Linked DNA regions of Homo sapiens: region 1 is linked to region 2. Evidence: promoter capture Hi-C in 16 types of primary human blood cells and fetal thymus (Javierre and others, 2016). All regions are on one chromosome and are shown on one strand. The core of a region is centred on a gene start or on the middle of the fragment in contact, and the rest is flanking DNA. Distances in the headings are between cores, read along the strand shown. Region 1 has its middle 200 kb from the start of LINC01608. Region 2 holds the start of CSMD3 (CUB and Sushi multiple domains 3).

Region 1 (2,782 bases), core at 277-2,776, 2.6 Mb after region 2:
AAATTACAGTCTTATATTTGAACATCATTTCTTATCTCAAAGTTATTACATAACTGCTATAGTCAAGCTGTTATGTATGAAATCTATGCTTTCCTAACACAACAGTGTATAATATAGTATTAATCACTGAAGTTATTTTCAGTTGCATATTTTGATTAGATTTCAATTTTTTAAACTACGTGAAAGTCTCTAAACCATTTTCAGATTCAGAAACCTTATTTTAAATATATATGTTCAGGAATTTCTATTTCTGCTACAGTATGAAGACCTTAGAAGGCATCACTGTCATCCTTCCTTCAAGAAAAAAGAAAAACTGAACAAACTAAAAATCAAAAAGCATTCTTAAGTGCATCCTAGAATTAAGGTTACATAACGGACTGATGCTCTTAAAACCAGAGAGACTTTCAAATACAGAAAGTTTCAGCTCACCAAGAACAGAAGATGCTAGAAGAGGAAGAAGAGGAAAACTTAAATGGTTGCTGATCAAGTGTTGGTCACGTTGTGTGTAGAAGCTTCAGAGTTAAAAACTACTGAAGATTCAGCCTTAAGGGTCACTGTAGTGAGCTTTATCCCCAGGAGCTCATCCAGATTCTCGTGGTGAAAATATGAAAAAAGCCCCTCATGCTTCAGCAAAAGGAGAGGAAAACTAACCATCATGGAGAATGCTCATGAGAAAGTAACCAATTTGAAATATACTAAAAGATTATTTTTCTCTGTCCTCAAAGGAAACCACTTTGCAAGAAGTTAACTAAAGTAAAGGTAGGTAAATACTCAGTTTCAGCCTTCTCTGGTCTTAGTTGAGAAAGTTAGTTCTGTGTGTATGGTGTCAGTCTATGTGTGTGGTGTGGGAGGAGGGAGGGACTGAGGGGCACTTACAAACATCACACCCTAGGGACACAGGCCCACTAAAAGACTGAGACTGAATCATGGCATGATTGAAGGCTTCCTCTCCCCACACACCTTACCACCACATCAACAGAGTATCTGTGTCACAGCAGAAGATTACATCTGATAGAACTACAAGGCTCAGACTATATTTAATGAAGAATTTCTAGGGAAACCTAAAGACAACAGGAAAGACAAAACAAGGACAGTAGAGGAAATTGAAGTCATGCATTGGTGCGCACAGCAAACAGTAAAGACTAAACAACTTTCAGCCTCGTAAATGTAAACTCTTATACACAATTTCTATTTCCAAATATAACATGTCTGACTTCCAACAACAACAACAAATTACAAGGCATGTTTCAAGGCAAGAGAAAATATAATCTGGATAGACAATGAAATTTCAATTTCTTAGAAAAATTCAAACAAGGTGGTAATATAGTCATTTTTAAAGAAAACAAGCATGCTTTGGGAGGCTGAGGTGGGGTGATCACTTGAGTTCAGGAGTTTGAGACCAGCCTGGCCCACATGGTGAAACCTCATCTCTACTAAAAAACACAAAAAATTAGCCGAGCATGGTGATGGGTGCCTGTAATCCCAGCTACTCGGGAGGCTGAGGCAGTAGAATCCCTTGAACCTGGGAGGCGGAGGTTGCAGTGAGCTAACACTATTGACTCCAGCCTAAGGAACAAAAAAAAAAAAGGAAAAAAATGACCTAAACAAGTTACTTGATGATTAGTTTGATGGCAACAGAATATGCAATTTTTGAAACACCAGAAAAATAAGTTTGTTTTCTTATTAATACAAATTATAAATGTGATGCAGGGAGTGAAGTTTCCTAAGGAAAATTGACAAGATTGGCTGCTAAAATGCCCTTTCTTTTTATGAAAAATGTACATTGCAAAATTTTGAGTGAATTATATTCTTTTAAATTTTTGGATGATGGTGGGTTTTATGTGTGTAAATTACATATTTCTCAAAGAAAATAGCATTATTTGGGGTTGTCTAAATGGCACAGTGAGATCAGAGGAGTTAATTTCAGGAGGGTTGAACAAAAAAATTTATTCAATCGCAAATTGTAAAATCAGATTAACATTTTTTACTTTTATTAAAATATATGTTTTTAATTGTCATTGCTTTTCTTAGAGGTAATCCCTGTGCTTTACCTTTTGATAATTATTTTTATGCTTTTTTGTTTAATAGTTGTATGCATCTCTACATAACAGAGTTAAGTTTTGCTCAATTTAAACTAATGTGGATACAATCTTAACGGATGTATTATATTTGATGTTGTCTTGTTTGCTTCATATTATGTTTTATAGATTAATCCCTGTCATAATTTATAATTTTTAGTTTTCATTCTTCTCTGATATTTATTATACGTATGTAAAATATTTATTTTGCAATTTTATTCTTGATGGATGACTATTACAAACAATTAATTATAGGCATTCTTAAACATGAACACTGGAATGAAACATTTTTACAAGTAGAAAGAATATTGTATAGATAAATGAAAATTTATTCACTGAGAGACCTACTTTTTAAAGTGTAAATGTGTATATAAACATGTCTTAACATTTTAGAAGCCTACTGTGCACAGACTTACAACACAATTGTTCAAGGGAAAATATTATTATTGAACAAAAAGCTTTGGATTACAGTTCAATGGTAATGTTACAAAACTAAAGATCAAGCTAAACTACAGATTAACTCTTTTCACCCTTTTTGACCTCAGCACTTTCTTTTGAGCATCTAGACTAAAAATGGTAGTCTTGCTAATTGCCAATTGGCAATTGGCTTTTTGGGGGCTCTTCAGAAACTAATATCAAATTGACTTTGCTGTTCAATAGCACACTATTTGAAATAAATGATATATTTATGGATTTGGAAAATT
Region 2 (2,700 bases), core at 72-2,571:
TTGTGCACAGTGCAGGGAGCTGCAAACTCAAGTTGGGCAGTCCTCTAGACTAAGCCTTGTTGATAGACGCTCACGCCCATGATAGCCTGAGGCAGTTAAATGGAGCCACACGCAACAGCAATATCCTGTTTCAGAACTAGCGCTGTGGCACTCCCCACTGCTGAGAGGGGACCAGATTCCCGAAAAGGTCAGATCACCAATCAGTTGCCTAATCTAAGGAACTTGTTCATTGAAAGATTTGGGCCAGGACCGTGGTCGAAAAAAATCAAGGAGCACGACATACTGGTCCCGGGGACACAGCTCCCCTGACACCAAGGGATGGCAAAAACAGGGTCCCTTATACATGCGAAGGAAGAACGGGCGGCTCGGAGACGGCCAGTAGATGGCGCAAGAACTCTTCCCTTGTGCAATCTTAACCCTTGCGTGGTGCATGGGGGAAGCAGATCCAGATGTATAGATACATACATTTTTCGTTTTGAAAGAAACCTCCTATTTACATATTTGGTACCGATTCAGAATTAAGACAAATGGGTTTGTTCTAGATAACTACCACAGATAAAGTAGTTTAACTGCGGCACACACAAACTGAAAAGGGGGTTGGGAGGATGAAAGGGAGAACTATTTGAGGAAACGACATTGACTTCCCTCCCCACCCCACCCCCGCCCAGGCCACGGATGAAATCCGTTTCCCGAATCATAAAAACCCGGTGAAGGGTTTACACGTAGTTATTTGAGTATGTAAATACATGTGTTCAAATACATTCTTTTCCGTGTGAAGGCAGAATTTATTGAGAAAATTCTCTGTGATTTCCTTTTTCAATTAAATCACAGGATAATAAATGGGAGAAGCCTGCCTGAAATATACTGCAACTACAGTAGTAACACATGTCCCATTATAACGACGTGGGCATCGATGGAGCCCGATTCATTATCGTCACGGTTTCCCCAAAAGCAACACAGATCCTCCGATTAAAATATTCCTTTGACATGCTTCTGTATTCGCAGCCTGCAACGGAGAGCTCACTAACATTATTTCTTGGGCTGCTTTTACAGGCAGAATTGATCTATTCGGGGAAAAAAAGCAAGCCCCTTAATTTCAAATATTGTGTGGAGTTTATCAGAGAGCAGAGGTGGGCTTTAAGAGGCTCACTAGTGGTTTCTGGTGGTTGCTATAACGAGCCAGAATTGGGGTAGATTTTGGTGGAGGGGAAAAAACGCACAAGAAAAGACAGAATCCAGAGTAGCGGAGACTTTGTGCCCCCGTTGGAGAGATGGTTGAGTCCTCGTCAAGGTTGCTGTGGTATCCCAGAAACACCATTCACTCCGAGCTGTGACCGCGCACCAACAACAGCAACAACTCCACTGCGCCGGGCTGAGGAGCAGGAATTAGGAGCTCGCGAATAATATGAAAGGGATCCGCAAAGGGGAAAGCCGAGCAAAGGAATCCAAACCCTGGGAGCCTGGCAAGCGAAGATGCGCTAAATGTGGCCGCCTAGACTTCATCCTGATGAAGAAAATGGGGATTAAAAGTGGATTTACGTTTTGGAACCTCGTCTTTTTATTGACGGTGTCTTGTGTGAAAGGTAGGTCTGCTTTGGGGGTCCCCTCCGCTTTGGATGGAGGTGGGCTGACTTGTAGATGGAGAGAGGCTGGCAGCTTACTTTGCAATTTGCACCGATAAAATAATCTGATAATACTAAAGGAGTTGATTCACAGCTCGTTCTCCCCCCCTCAGATAGGAAATGCATTTTGCTTGCCAGATTTGGCGTTCAATGCGGTGATTGAGCTTGTGCTCAATAAATATTCTTGCAGTATGCTCAAACGAATACGTGAGTTGGTTAGTATAGCCTCTAACTAGTGGATATCCAGGCAGAATTCCTCTGCAAGACTTTTCTTAGTGGTGAGGATTACCTTGATTTCTTGTCAGATCACTAGGGCTTGAGGCTTTGGGTGGAATATATATATTAAAGACGCTGGTCTAAATGCTTTTTAACCCTTTCAGGGAAGAAAGTTATCGACGTGCTAGGAATGTGTTGATTTTAAATGCATTAGGGCACAGGGATCTTCCAAGCACTGCCACATCAACATGAATGTCTGCATGCATATGTATGTAAATTGGGCTTCTATGCAATGTTAAATGTAGGGGAGCTTCCCTAGGACCTGTGGTAGAGGTTTGGCAAAAAATGAGGCTTTCGAAGGGTCTGAAATGCCATGAAGTGTAAAGAACCACCTTAAGGGATGAATGAGGTAGGAGGAAAGTCATTAGCTGACGACCAAAAGAAAATCCCCAGCAAGTCTCAGCGTTCAGACAGGTAGAGTGAGTGTCACATGCACAGATAGGGGAGGGGGTAGGTGGGATGTAAAAATGTATTCCCAAGCAGGAAGGCAAGGGACAGTCAGGATCATGGGAAAAAGAGCTGTCCTTAGGGAGAAAATAGATCCATAGCTCTCTTCCACAACTTCTCCGGCACCCTGCTGCCCATTAATTGCTGCAAAGAATACTCAGGAGGTGTTTATGACTCATGCCATCATTTTTTGAACAATCACCTCTCCATACTCATGGCAGCTCGAATAGACGCTATGGATGCCGCTTTCAGTGAAGCTAGTTTCAAATCCCGGGTGTCTGTGTGTCGCGGGGGGGCGGGGGATCGCGGGAAAGGGGGTGCTGTTTTGGCCCAGGCGCGCCAGGGCTGTCAACAC

The links. Contacts are between HindIII fragments. The CHiCAGO score rates a contact against its expected background, and 5 or more counts as called.
Region 1: a contact is called between a fragment that was not itself captured here and the fragment with the promoter of CSMD3 in region 2, in 1 of 17 cell types (endothelial precursors). The highest score is 11.7, in endothelial precursors.

What each region holds. Positions count from the first base shown.
Region 1 is chr8:110,825,586-110,828,367 of GRCh38, reverse strand. No RefSeq gene overlaps it. Among named protein-coding and RNA genes, the nearest start is that of LINC01608, 200 kb to the left of the region's middle. The HindIII fragment of the contact is 2,024 bases long and covers 515-2,538 here.
Region 2 is chr8:113,435,560-113,438,259 of GRCh38, reverse strand. CSMD3 (CUB and Sushi multiple domains 3) reads left to right here and starts at 1,321. Exons shown (of 71, transcript NM_198123.2): 1 at 1,321-1,583. The coding sequence starts at 1,406. RefSeq lists enhancers at 1-387, 400-449, 2,227-2,700. The HindIII fragment of the contact is 6,354 bases long and covers 1-2,700 here.